Regions from separate parts of the Homo sapiens genome. Here region 1 is linked to region 2. Evidence: promoter capture Hi-C in human tissues and cell types (Jung and others, 2019). All regions are on one chromosome and are shown on one strand. Each heading gives the region's core, a stretch centred on a gene start or on the middle of the fragment in contact. The rest is flanking DNA. Distances are from core to core; before and after follow the strand shown. Region 1 overlaps CFAP418-AS1 (CFAP418 antisense RNA 1). Region 2 holds the start of ESRP1 (epithelial splicing regulatory protein 1).

Region 1 (7,322 bases), core at 937-3,436, 1.1 Mb after region 2:
CCAGAAGCTAATAAATGCTGAAAGTGTTGCCATAGCTGCTACCAAAGTCAGCCTCTGAAAAAAGACCCAGTGTGCATGACTTGTGTAACTGCTGTAAGCACAGAAGGGAGAAATAGAAAGATAGAAAGGGCAACTTCTGACTCATTCCATCTCTCCATTTTCTTTCAGACTCTCTAATAGTTCCTTTCTTCCTTTTATTCTTCTTTTCTCCATTCTCTCCCTTGCCTCCCTCTCTCCCTTCCCTCCTTCCCTACCTCCCTCCTTCCCTCTCTCCCTCCTTCCTTCTTCCTTTCCCTTACCTCCCCTCCCCTTCCTTCTTTTTTGCTCCAATCTCTCTCTGTCCCTCCTTTTAAATTTATTTCTTACATTTCAAAAGATGATTCATTTATTTAAAAATAAGTTGACAGTTATTATTGACTGACACAATGAGCCAGTCTCTGTAATTAGCACTGGAGTTTAAAAAAAAAAGGAGCAAAAGGATACACAGAGTTCCTGTATTCAGGAAGCTTCTAATTTAGCCCCCTTGTAGCAACAAGCCAATTAATATCAGTTTGAAAAGAGATCAGTGCACTATATTTCTCTGTGGTAGATCTGACATGATTTTAGTTAACTTTATAAGATTTCTCCAGTCTTTGAACTAAATTCTGTGATTACATGCTCTCTGCATTTCAATTTTGACTTTGTCTAGATAACATTATGTTAGCATTTTCTTTGAGAGATTATCTTTAAGTGGTAAGATATTTTCTAGGTTTAATGTATTTTCTATGTTTTTAAAAATTAATTTTCTATATTTTCCAAAATTTATATAAGAAACTTCTATAACTTTTATAATAAAGTTATTTCTGATTTTAAACCCAATAGTGAATTTTCTTACAGTAAAATAATAGAAAATGAATTCATCTCTCTTTGAGTGTTTATTTCTTACAATATTTGAATATAATCTACTTAAAATATTTTAAAACTACACCATTAGGGTAAAAACAAAGGCATTGAAGAAAGAAAATACAATAATGCTAGCTGAAAACATCATTCATTTTTACATCTCCCATTTCTTCCTATTTCCTGTTTGTAGGCATACACGTTTTTACATAGTTGTGCTTTTTTTTTTGCTTTTCTATTAATTATTATTATATTTTAAGTTTTAGGGTACATGTGCACAATGTGCCGGTTAGTTACATATGTATACATGTGCCATGCTGGTGTGCTGCACCCATTAACTCGTCATTTAGCATTAGGTATATCTCCTAATGCTATCCCTCCCCCCTCCCCCCACCCCACAACAGTCCCCAGAGTGTGATGTTCCCCTTCCTGTGTCCATGTGTTCTCATTGTTCAATTCCCATCTATGAGTGAGAACATGCGGTGTTTGGTTTTTTGTCCTTGTGATAGTTTACTGAGAATGATGATTTCCAATTTCATCCATGTCCCTACAAAGGACATGAACTCATCCTTCTTTATGGCTGCATAGTATTCCATGGTGTATATGTGCCACATTTTCTTAATCCAGTCTAGCATTGTTGGACATTTGGGTTGCTTCCAAGTCTTTGCTATTGTGAATAGTGCCGCAATAAACATATGTGTGCATGTGTCTTTATAGCAGCATGGTTTATAGTCCTTTCGGTATATACCCAGTAATGGGATGGCTGGGTCAAATGGTATTTCTAGTTCAAGATCCCTGAGGAATCGCCACACTGACTTCCACAATGGTTGAACTAGTTTACAGTCCCACCAACAGTGTAAAAGTGTTCCTATTTCTCCACATCCTCTCCAGCACCTGTTGTTTCCTGACTTTAATGATTGCCATTCTAACTGGTGTGAGATGGTATCTCATTGTGGTTTTGATTTGCATTTCTCTGATGGCCAGTGATGATGAGCATTTTTTCATGTGTCTGTTGGCTGCATAAATGTCTTCTTTTGAGAAGTGTCTGTTCATATCCTTTGCCCATTTTTTGATGGGGTTGTTTGTTTTTTTCTTGTAAAGTTTGTTTTTTTCTTGTAAATCACGCTACCTGACTTCAAACTATACTACAAGTCTACAGTAACCAAAACAGCATGATACTGGTACCAAAACAGAGATATAGATCAATGAAACAGAACAGAGCCCTCAGAAATAACGCCGCATATCTACAACTATCTGATCTTTGACAAACCTGAGAAAAACAAGCAATGGGGAAAGGATTCCCTGTTCAATAAATGGTGCTGGGAAAACTGGCTAGCCATATGTAGAAAGCTGAAACTGGATCCCTTCCTTACACCTTATACAAAAATTAATTCAAGTTGGATTAAAGACTTAAACGTTAGACCTAAAACCATAAAAACCCTAGAAGAAAACCTAGGCATTACCATTCAAGACATAGGCATGGGCAAGGACTTCATGTCTCAAATACCAAAAGCAATGGCAACAAAAGCCAAAATTGACAAATGGGATCTAATGAAACTAAAGAGCTTCTGCATAGCAAAAGAAACTACCATCAGAGTGAACAGGCAACCTACCAAATGGGAGAAAATTTTCACAACCTACTCATCTGACAAAGGGCTAATATCCAGAATCTACAATGAACTCAAACAAATTTACAAGAAAAAAACATGGTTGTGCTTATAGCTTCAGTTACGTTTTCATCATCTGGACATGAGAATATCTTTTGTCGTTACTTAATGTAAGAATTCCAAACAATAGAGAAAGATAAAAGTGGATGAAAATCTACTTTCCTAATTTTACTCCTCAGAGGAAAGTACTGTCAGCAGTTGTTGTAATTGCTTCTGACTTTTTAATATACAGATAAACAAGTAATGCTCTCATGTATACATCTGCTCATTCAATAAAATATTATGGAATGGCTTGGTATTTTTCTAGGTGCCGGCGATACCATGGAGAATAAGATAGGATTGGTGCATACACCCTCACAGAATTTGCAGTCAAGCAGGGTTGGGCATGAGAATGAGCATTCCTAAGAAAGAGAACATTCGGCCGGGCGCGGTGGCTCACGCCTGTAATCCCAGCACTTTGGGAGGCCGAGGCGGGTGGATCATGAGGTCAGGAGATCGAGACCATCCTGGCTAACAAGGTGAAACCCCGTCTCTACTAAAAATACAAAAAAATTAGCCGGGCGCGGTGGCGGGCGCCTGTAGTCCCAGCTACTCGGGAGGCTGAGGCAGGAGAATGGCGTGAACCCGGGAAGCGGAGCTTGCACTGAGCCGAGATTGCGCCACTGCAGTCCGCAGTCCGGCCTGGGCGACAGAGCGAGACTCCGTCTCAAAAAAAAAAAAAAAAGAAAGAGAACATTCATTGGTGATGTGTTGTATGGTTATGGACATCTCTCTATGCCAGCATAAGTTAAGCTATTTTATCATTTTTAATACCTGCATAGTAGTCCATAGTGTGGTTATAATAATCATAATAAAAAGAATAGTAATGCTTATTGAGTGCTCACTGCATTGCTAGATGCCATGCTAAATGATTATGTACTTTACACTAACTAAAGTGTCACTCACAGCCACCAATAAATAGGTTACATTATTTTCTCTATTTTACAAGTGAAAAAAAATGGGTTTATGCAAGTGAGGGATCTTGATCAAGTTCCCACAGCTAGGGAGAGCTAAAATCCAAACTGAGTCTGACTCCAAAGCCTATAGTTTTTACTTCTCCACTATAAATATTCCATAAGTCACTTATAAAGAAGCTTATTGATAAACACTTACGATACTTCTAGTTTTTGCATTTGAAAATAATGCAGTAATTTACATTATACTTGTATGAATATTTATACCCTAAAATAGCCAAACTAGGAATTTTTAATTCAAGGAAATACATGTAATTTTTATAGATATTATCAAATCATCCGTCTCAAAACAACAATCATGAGAGCTTATATTGTCAGCAACTTTCTCAAAGCAACAATTCTCAAAAATTTCTAAATGCGTTTTAAGCAACAAATGTTTATTTGGAATGTAACAATTAGTATGAATTGGACATGTAAAATACACAAACCCACTTAAATATCATTTTATTATCATCATCATTATTACAGCAAATCAAAAGTTGTTGTTCTCATTATACCCCTTATATTTCAAGGGCTGAACACTTTGCATCTAGACAAAACGGAGTAAGTTTGGATTATAACTGTTTGGTTTCGTCGTCCATTGTCAATCTTCCTATTTGAATTATTTCAGAAACTCAGATTTTAAACCAGTGTTCATCAACCATACTCCTGAAGGAGGTTGCTTGGCCCAGTACATTCAGCAAAATGATTGGTCCAAGTACAGATTAGCTGGAAATTACTTACCTTGCCCTTTTCAAAGCTGTGAGGCTTTCTGCCTGATTACTGTCACTGGGTTTTGTCTCTTCCCTATTGCAACCTAAAGAGAATTTTGCAACTGCAATTTGCAATGAGTAACTGGATAGCGATAATGGAGGCAGTGAACCTTCCCATGTAAAGCTATTAGGTTGGTGCAAAAGTAATTGCGATTTTTGCCATTAAAGGCAAAAACCATTGCTTTTTATGAGTAAAATGAGTAAAAACCAAATGCCATTGCCTTTAATGGCAAAAACCGCAATTACTTTTGATGGCAAAAACCACAATTACTTTTGCACTTGTTTATTTAAAAATAAATTGAGTGCTCACAATGTGTCATTCTCTGTAATTAGCACTAGGGTAGAAAGAGCAAAAGGATACACAGAATTCCTGTCTTCAGGAAGCTTCTAATTTAGCCTCCTGTAGCAACAAGCCAAGTAATATCAATTTGAAAAGAGACCAGTGCACTGTATTTCTCTGTGGTATATGTGACATGACTTCAGTTAACTTTATAAGATTTCCCCCATCTTCAAACTAAATTCGGTGTTAGTTTGGTTTTATTTGCCATTATTTTTAATGGCAAAAATCATAATTACTTTTGCACCAACTTATAATACACATCCCTTAAGTCTGCAAAGCTAAGGAATCACCACCTGTTTACCCATTCCATGATCCCTATTTTATAAGCTACATAAACGATTAGAAGAAAAATTGGAGTCTTGGGGTTCTTTTATAACATGTGCACAACCTAGTTTGTTACTAGCACCTCAGTGGCATATCCAGCAATATCCTCATTCCTTTGAAAAGTTTCAGTTGGCCAGGCGTGGTGGCTCACGCCTGTAATCTCAGCACTTTGGGAGGCTGAGGCGGGCAGATCACAAGGTCAGGAGATCGAGACCATCCTGGCCAACGTGGTGAAACCCTGTCTCTACTAAAAATACAAAAATTAGCTGGGTGTGGTGGTGTGCGCCTATAGTCCCAGCTACTCAGGAGGCTGAGGCAGGAGAATCGCTTCAACCCAGGAGGCAGAGGTTGCAGTGAGCTGAGATCGCGCCATTGCACTCCAGCCTGGTTTGACAGGGTGAGACTCCGTCTCAAAAAAAAAAAAAAAAAAAAAGAAAAAGAAAAAAAGAAAAGGACTGTAAATTGAGGTCCCTGTTTGGTCTTTTATTTCTTTAATCTTTACATTTTTTTTTAATTAATTTTTTTTTGGCAGAGTCTCACTCTGTTGCCCTGGCAGAGTCTCACTCTGTTGCCCAGGCTGAAGTGCAGTGGCACGATCTGCACTCATGGCAACTTCTGCCTCCCAGGTTAAAGCAATTCCCTCGCTTCAGCCTGCCGAGTAGCTGGGACTACGGGCGCGTGCCACCACGCCTGGCTAATTTTTTGTATTTTTAGTAGAGATGGGGTTTTACCATGTTAGCCAGGATGGTCTCGATCTCCTGACCTCCTGATCCGCCCTCCTCGGCCTCCCAAAGTGCTGGGATTACAGGCGTGAGCCACCGCGCCCGGCCTAAATTAATCTTTATTGAGACTGTGGGCTAGGTGTTAACCTTCTGAACTTCAGATTTCTCTTTTATGAAAGAGGATAAGACCAACCATTTCCCTCCTAACATGGATAGGCAAGATAGTCAAGTATAGGAAGTTTATGTGCGACCAAGGGAAGAGGATGGCTCTGATGACATGTAGATCTACTTTAGTGAAGAAATATCTGTTCTCTAGAATGAAAACAAGCAGCTTGGTGCTTGCAGTCCAGAGAAGAAGGGCATGTAGAGAAAAGGAACCTGTCTAAATACTTGAGGTATTTTTTTGCTGTTCTGTGTGACCCTCTGTGACCTTCCCTTCTCCCTCCTCTTACGGCCCCAAACTCAGCTATTTGACTAAATGTTTCACTTCTCAACAAGTTATGCTGGTGTTACGTAGAGACAGACTTAATTAAAGTTTGCATGTGGTGAGTGAGAAAGAGAAGGGCATTTAAACTGAGTCAGGACCTGTTAGAAAAAACAAAACAAAACAAAACAAAAAAAAACAGCTGTGACAGAATGACACAAGGAAAAGAAGGAGGTGCAAAAAGCCATTTGGTTCGAGCTCTGTTAATTCAGGCCAGGGAAGAGGTAATGCAGAGGCCCGAGGGGGTGAGTTAAGGACAGGGTTTCTGCCTTAACTCTCAACATGCTTGGTTTTATTAGTTTAGGCCAGGCGGCTGCTAACATTATTTTAGTATCTATTTTGTGAGTGATTATGTTGTATGCATGGGCAGGAGGTCAGGCGGGTCGGGCCTTTCTGCTCCAGACCATCTCTGCATGAGCCTTTCGCCTTCAGATCTTGCTGAAACTTGCCACCTGTAAAAGCAGACAACCTAATGGGAAAAAGAGCAGCACTTAAAATGCTGTTTTTTCTCCACTGCTCTCTAGTGTAAAGAACGTTGTAAAAATATTTCAAACTGGATTTTTTGTTTTGATTGCGTTAACTCTTTGTTGGACCGTCGTCACACTTTTCCCACAAAATTTACTTTCGGTAACCAGAGATGTTTTGGAGAAACTGAATATTATGTCTGCAAACAGAGGGAAGCAGTCAGAGAAACCCAAAGGGAGGCTTGCTAATGTTCTGATCACTTAAACTCGTCTGTCCTATCATACACAATGACCACAGCTTTGGAAAGCTAACAAACCAGTTTCTTTTTTAGGAACTCTCTTTCATTTGTGTTTGAACGAAACGTCCATGAAACATGGACCAGCTCCAACCACAATGTTTTTGAGAGCCAACACCCAAAAGAAGGGATGCAGTCTAGATCTTAATCCTAATTTCTTACCCAACTGCCCGTGTGACCTTGTCTCATCATGATGCCTCAATGCCTCAGTTTAACTTTACAAGGATCTGCTGGCCTCATTGTTTGGGGGATTGGACTCATTTATTCGCTGTTACTCAGAGCTGTTAGGTAATCAGGCAGGAATCATGGACCCAAAAATGGGGTTATGGGGCAGTGGTATAGATGGGGCCAGATCTTTCCAATCTCCAAACTTTGGTTTTG
Region 2 (6,773 bases), core at 294-2,793:
CGGAGTGGGTTCTGCAGGGATAGGTGCATGGTTGCCCGTTTCACATCATGAATATGAACGGGGCTGGACACCTAGAGCCGAATTATTAATACTTCAGACAGAATTCTGTTCCCAAGAACAAATCGCTTTGAGATATAAAACCCGAGAAAACTTCACCTCTGGCGCTTTTCTCTCTAAAATGTCAACAAGACCCAACAACATACTGCCACCGATCTGGTGGCTGGGGGGTGATGGTTGGGGTACGAGCCTCTGGGCAGACCAAGCTGAGGTGGAGCAGGGAGGTTGTTTGGGAGCTTGGTCAAGTCAACACACTCCAATACAATGCCAAAAGCATGAGCAGAGGGAATGGGGTCAGGGCGCAGAACCTGGGAAAAAGCCTGCGTGGCCCGATTTAAGAAAATTTTTATTAGGCATGCGGATAGATGCTTTTCATTTGGGGCCCAAGGCAAATAAAAGGAAATGGGCCCCAGCTCTGGAGGATGTTCCAGCTTCGAACTAGCAGCCAGGACCAAACCAGACATAGCATTCAGAGTTGACAGAAAAAGAAGCGGGCTCCATTGTGCCTGAGTTTCCTTGCGGGGTCCCCCAGCTGCTTTGCGCGCGATAACTGCGTCCTGGGGAGTGACTAGGTGGTTGGGCGTCCAGCCCCTGGCGTCCGGCTCTGCCGCGCGCGGGGTTCCTCTCCGGAAGGTGGGCAGCGCGGCGGGTTTGGGACGAGCGTGCACCCGGGCTCCGGCCCGGAGAAGGGGGGGCTCGCAGGATTTCTCCTGCTGTTTGCACTGAAAGTTGTGTTGGCTCAGGAGCTGCTTTTCCGGGGATCTGCAGTTGCCCCCGCCACCTCCTGGCTGCGGTTGGCAGGTCCCTCCCTCAGCAGTTCGTCCTCCGCCTGCGCCGCGCCCTGGGCAGCTCCGCGCCCCGGGCCTCACCTCTGGCCTCCTTTCGCCTCCCTGCACCTGGCCTTTTCGCTTGACCGTTCAGAACCTTCGGCTTCGTTCCCTGCAGCCGGTATTCTCCGAGCCCCCCTGCACCTCTCAGTTACCTCCAGTGGGAACCCCTCCCCCCAGCGACTCCGAGCCCTTTACCTCTCTGAGCCCTTTCCCCGTCTGGCCTCGTCTACCCTCTGGGTGTCAACCGCCTCTTCCCTGCCCCTCACGTCTCCCCCTCCTCCTCCCCTGCCCTCGCCTCTCCATTCATCCAGCCATTGTCTCCCGCCCCTTCCTCCCCCTCCCGAAGCGGCCTCCTCCCCCACCGCTGCCACGTCGTGGTTTGAAGGAGCCAATGGGCCGGCGCCGCCAGGTGTCTCTTACCTGCACCACGTGGGGGAGGGGGAAGGGGCGGGCAGGTAAAGCCACATCCCAAAACAGAAAAGCTTTCAGCCATTGCGTGCCTCCCGGGGGGGGCAGCCTTGCTCCAGGCTTTTTGCATAGACGCCCGGGCAACTGAATACAAAAAGGGCAGGCCTCCTGCGCCCTCCTTCCCACCCCCCTTCCTGCCCTGGGCGTGGAGCACCGACCAGGTGTGGGCTTGGGTGGTTGGTTACCGCCTTTTGCACTAGCAGTAGCAAGGAAGGGGGGTGGGCGCTCTTTCTTTTTCTCTTAGAAGAGGGTTTAGCACAGGTTTTTTCGTTCTCACTTCCACACCACCTTACCGCCTCCCGACCCCCCCTCTCCCCCTCCCCACCTATCGTCATGACGGCCTCTCCGGATTACTTGGTGGTGCTTTTTGGGATCACTGCTGGGGCCACCGGGGCCAAGCTAGGCTCGGATGAGAAGGAGTTGATCCTGCTGTTCTGGAAAGTCGTGGATCTGGCCAACAAGAAGGTATTTCTCCACATTTTCGTCTAAATGCAAGGAATGGGGCAAGAAGTTTGTGGTAGAGGTTTGGGCGGGGAGGGGGGTGGAGGTAAGTAAATAAGTGCTCTTGTTTGCCCACTTGTGAGTCTGGACCCGAGGCCTAGGGAAGCTAGAGTAAAACCAAACTTATTGGCCAACTGCCTTGGAGCCATTTCAGTCCTCCGCAACTTAGCTCAGGTGGAGAGGCCGGCGCTACCGAGCCGGGTTCTTTGCCCGTCGGGGGACGCTCCGCCGAGACGAGGTGGGGTCTCGGAGGCCCCGGGGTCCACTTCCAGGGCTTTTCCGACCTATCGGGTGGGGGGTGGGGCGGGGGGCAGGAACGCACCGGAACCGATGGCGAGTCGAGAGCTTTGATTCTGCGTCCGGACCCCAAGAGAGGCGCGGGCCGCCCCAGCAGGGGAGCGAGGGAGGAGGGTGCAGAAAGAGGCTCCGAAATTGGGGGAAACTGACCCGTGCTTCTCTACCTTCGGAGGTGGGACAGTTGCACGAAGTGCTAGTTAGACCGGATCAGTTGGAACTGACGGAGGACTGCAAAGAAGAAACTAAAATAGACGTCGAAAGCCTGTCCTCGGCGTCGCAGCTGGACCAAGCCCTCCGACAGGTGACAACCCCGGGTCACGCCACCCACCCCAGCCTGGGCCCAACCCCACCGCACCCTACGCCCTCTCAGGGCGGCCCACGCGTGTTCCCGGAGCAGGGTGGCGAGACGCCTGCCCGGCCGCGTGGGTGGGAGCCCAGCCTGAGGGCCGGGGCGCACCGTTTGGGCGGGGGTCGCTGCTTCTCTTCATCTCCCAGCCCCCAGGGTTTGGGACCGACATTCACTAGTTTTCGAGTTGCTTCCTGAGTAGTTACTGGAGCCGGAGAGTCAGCTCCATTTTGCCAATTGATTGACGTGCGGAGTTTGAATCCTAGCGCCCCCATCTCCAGGTCCAGACCCCAGACGCGCCGCTCCCCTGCGGGGTTTGGGCCCACAGCCTTCGGGCAGGGGGCGCTGTGGCGTAGACGTGCAGGTGGGCCCGGCGGGTGTGCAAGAAGTAGCACTGTGGGTTGGAACCTGAAGGTGCCTGCCTGGTTTCAGGCTTCTGAACTCCCAACGAAAGGCTCGGTCCGTCATTATTTCTTTAGTGGCCTTGGTCCCACTGCCAGGGAGGTTTTTCAGGTCCGAACGTGCAAGGCTGCCCGTTGTGTCACTGCGGAACTGATGGAATCCCCTTATTAGGACTGAGGTGACCTAAAAACCGGCTGTTCCGGGGTGCTGACGGGTGCCGGATCGGGTAGGGCGGGGCGCTAAACACCTGTGCACAGATGAATGCTCTGCGTTCTCACGACCTCTGCCCTAGCACACGAGCTTCGAGTTATAGGAGAAAGCTATCCTTCCTGGGGTGTATTCATCCAAGACTTTCCAGATCTGTATACCCAATACCCGTATTTGTTTATTAGAAGCTGGCATCTTTCTTAAGCCTGGCACATCCAAACATATAAAAAGTAACACTAGGGAATGATGTAATCTGCAGGCAACCTGCTGATGAAATGAGACATCTGACTTAAGTCTTGAATGAATTTTTTTTGTAAAAACAGAAGGGAGAATGCATTGACAAGTTTCTCCTGGGCGCGAACTGCGGATTGATTGGAAAGCTTCCCTACCTCGAGGAAGCTAGACGGTTCGTGGGAAAGGAGTCTGTCCAAGGTTGCCCCAGCACCGGTGTCACCCATCAGGGCCCTTATTGCGGTTTTCTCTGGCTATCACCAAGGGGAGCTACTTTGCAGAGTTTGTAAATCGTGCATCAGTTGCATCCCTATGTGTATCTTGTTCTTGCAGTTTAACCAGTCAGTGAGCAATGAACTGAATATTGGAGTAGGGACTTCCTTCTGTCTCTGTACTGATGGGCAGCTTCATGTCAGGCAAATCCTGCATCCTGAGGCTTCCAAGAAGGTAAGAGTGCTGGCTTCTGGGAAAAAAATGGTTGGAGCTTTGGGGTGACTGGAGGTTTTTAAAAATTTTTGGTTTATTCAAGTTTCTCTGTTCTTAAAAAGATGCATATAGGGAGTTATTTAATGAGTACAGAATTTCAGTTTGGGAAGATGAAAAAGCTCTGGAAATGGATGGTGTTTATGGTTGCAAAATATGTTAATGTACTTAATGTTTTACTGAACCATACTCTTAAAAATTATTAAAATGGTAAATTTGGTGTTATGTATATACAAAGATACTCTTTGGTGACTTAAAATAGTCTCTTTGTTTACGTCCAATTTTCAAGATGCATGACACTTCCCTTTTCCGAAGCTAATACAGAGTGTGAATTTTTGACATTTAAAATAACTACAAAGAGAGGAAAGAACTATTCTTTAGTATGTCATAATATCCTCATTTGTGTTGGAAATGCTATATCCTAGAAAGGAAGGAAAAAAGAATTAAACATTTAAAGTTGTATTTCTAATCATTTCATTAAAAAGGCTACTTAAATAAGATAACCTTATATCTAGTGAAACCACAATCGTAGCACTCTTCACTTTGTCTGATTTTAAGTCAATGTTCAAAACATTCTTGCATCAAAACAAAAGGGTCAGCCTCATCTTTTACCTTTGCTCATTTTTCTGACAGAGAGAGGATTACAGAGTGAGAGAAATACAGTCTTACTATAGGTAAAATGTGATTTCTCTCCCTGGGATAAATACTGAGGGGCTGTGGGAAAAGGAACAGCAGAGACAACCCACCCAGTGTAGCCAATCATTGTTAATACACTGTCTCTTAACAACTTAAATTAGTTTGAGCTGTAACTTTTTATTGTGGTAGGCAGGCACCGAGCTTGAAAAGATGGAAGTAGAATATATTTAGGTACCTGTATAAGGCAAGGCTTGCAATGAAAGATGTAGACTGACAAATGACGACCCAGGCAAGTAAGTGCAGATTTTATTTCGTTTAATATATTATGACAATTCAAAAAGTTTGAAGGAGTAACTCAAGTTGTTATGTCTTCAGAAAATCATTCCTTTTATACGAGTCTTAGTAATTATTTGACAAAAGGGGAAGAATTTTTTTAAAAAATTAAATGCTAGACTAGTCGCTACATCCTTACCAGAAATAGTAATATGTAAGGATTACTTTTTTACTCCCAAACTCACATGACGGAAGGACAAGACTTAATCTTTTCCCTGTTGGGCCAGAGGAAAATAGCTGTTTTCATTATTTAGGTGGAGTGCTTTGGGTGTAGGAAAACATCTGGAGAAAAATTAAGACTTTTTCCTCAGCCACAGCTATTAGAATTTTGATTAAATACAGAAACTAAAACAATTAATGTTATAGTGAAAGTAATTCTGTATATTCGTTAAAGAAAAGGGAAAATGGCAAAACATGAAATAATCCTGCCACTCAATATATTAAAATGTTTTTCTCTAACATGAATGTATTTGGATATATTCTTCTAGATTTCTGTAGACAAGCATTATTTACAAAGAGCATTCATACGGCGTAAGCCTTTTAGCCTACATTATTTAATAGAACATCAACATTGTTATAACCACTAAATAAAATACTCAGTATTTTAAATGGACACAACAATTTAAACTGATTATTGTTGAACATGTGAGTTATTGTCCTTACAAATAGCTTTTAAATGAGCATTTTTGTAGGTAATAGGGAGGTTTCATGGTTCTTTTGGTTGTTAACTTTTTTAAAAGCTGTGACCATGATGCAGCAATACTGATTTCAAAATACAGCATGAACAGGTCACATCTAGTAAAATCCAATAGAAGGAACTTGGAGAGGAGATATTTTGCATGAACATTTAACATTTAAAAGTCTTAATTTCCTTGATGTTCTAATGTAAAAATGGGTAAAAATTCCCAGCAAATTAACACAATTTCAAAATTTTAAGAAAAATCTGAATTGAGTTTTTAAAAGGATTATCTTTAAAAGTTATCCAATGCTGGGTTATTTTGTTAAGAAAAAAAAAAACAAAGGAAACAATAGTGTAATATTTGTCCAGACAGTTGAGCTTTGCTTCGTAGCCACGGTAGTGGTCCTAATAGCTAAGAACAGCAGGTAACCATTTCTCCTTTGCCTTTGGGATTTGTGAGTTTGTTTTTGTTTGTGTTTGAAGTCTAATTTGAGTTCACAGGTACAGCTACAATATTGTTCAAGAAGACTAATGTGGGACTATTATTTGGCACAGAAATAAGCCTTTTCAGTTAATCAGGAATTTACTATTCTAATCTCACTTATTACTGAAAATATGCATTATTAGAACCCAATAGTTAGAACTACCCAGTTTTACAATCTAATCCCACACCTGTGTGAAAACTGAAAGGGCTGCTAGTGCTGCCTGAAAATACAGATGTTCTAAAATGGTTATGGCTGGAAAAAATTAGTATTAACAGCCAGAAAATATGAAGTATAACAGCACAAATGTATCACAGCTTCAGAATTGTTTTGAATGGAATGCATACTGGAGCACAAACATTGTAATCCACTGCCTTAAAACAAGAGGAATTTTTTTCATGAGACTTGTACATAGGATCTAATATAGAAACAGGACCAACTTTTAAAAATAAATCTACTTTTACATTAAATTTTAAATTTTTCCATTGTAAAATATGCTTATATTCAATTTTTAGGTTCCTAATTGTGAGAGAAACATTGAACCAAATTCACCTAGTTAACATTATCTACCTTGTCCTTCCTCAGAATGTACTATTACCTGAATGCTTCTATTCCTTTTTTGATCTTCGAAAAGAATTCAAGAAATGTTGCCCTGGTTCACCTGATATTGACAAACTGGACGTTGCCACAATGACAGAGTGTATCCTTTAAATCATTACTCAAGAATCATTTGAAAAGATAGTTCCAGAAAAGGTAATTCAAGAAACTTTCAAACATTTTAAATTTTGTCAGCATATGGATAAAATTGGCCTATCCAAAAT

Evidence for each region. Contacts are between HindIII fragments. The study calls those that stand out against the background at their distance.
Region 1: a fragment that was not itself captured here is called in contact with the fragment with the promoter of ESRP1 in region 2 in 1 of the 25 tissues and cell types used here (lymphoblastoid cells).

Annotation. Positions count from the first base shown.
Region 1 is chr8:95,715,317-95,722,638 of GRCh38, forward strand. All of the region lies in intron 3 of CFAP418-AS1 (CFAP418 antisense RNA 1), which reads left to right. Among named protein-coding and RNA genes, the nearest start is that of GDF6, 440 kb to the right of the region's middle. The HindIII fragment of the contact is 4,002 bases long and covers 186-4,187 here.
Region 2 is chr8:94,639,631-94,646,403 of GRCh38, forward strand. It overlaps ESRP1 (epithelial splicing regulatory protein 1), which reads left to right and starts at 1,544. Exons shown (of 16, transcript NM_017697.4): 1 at 1,544-1,820; 2 at 2,326-2,454; 3 at 3,673-3,786; 4 at 6,538-6,652. The coding sequence starts at 1,689. RefSeq lists an enhancer at 2,882-2,971. The HindIII fragment of the contact is 5,400 bases long and covers 226-5,625 here.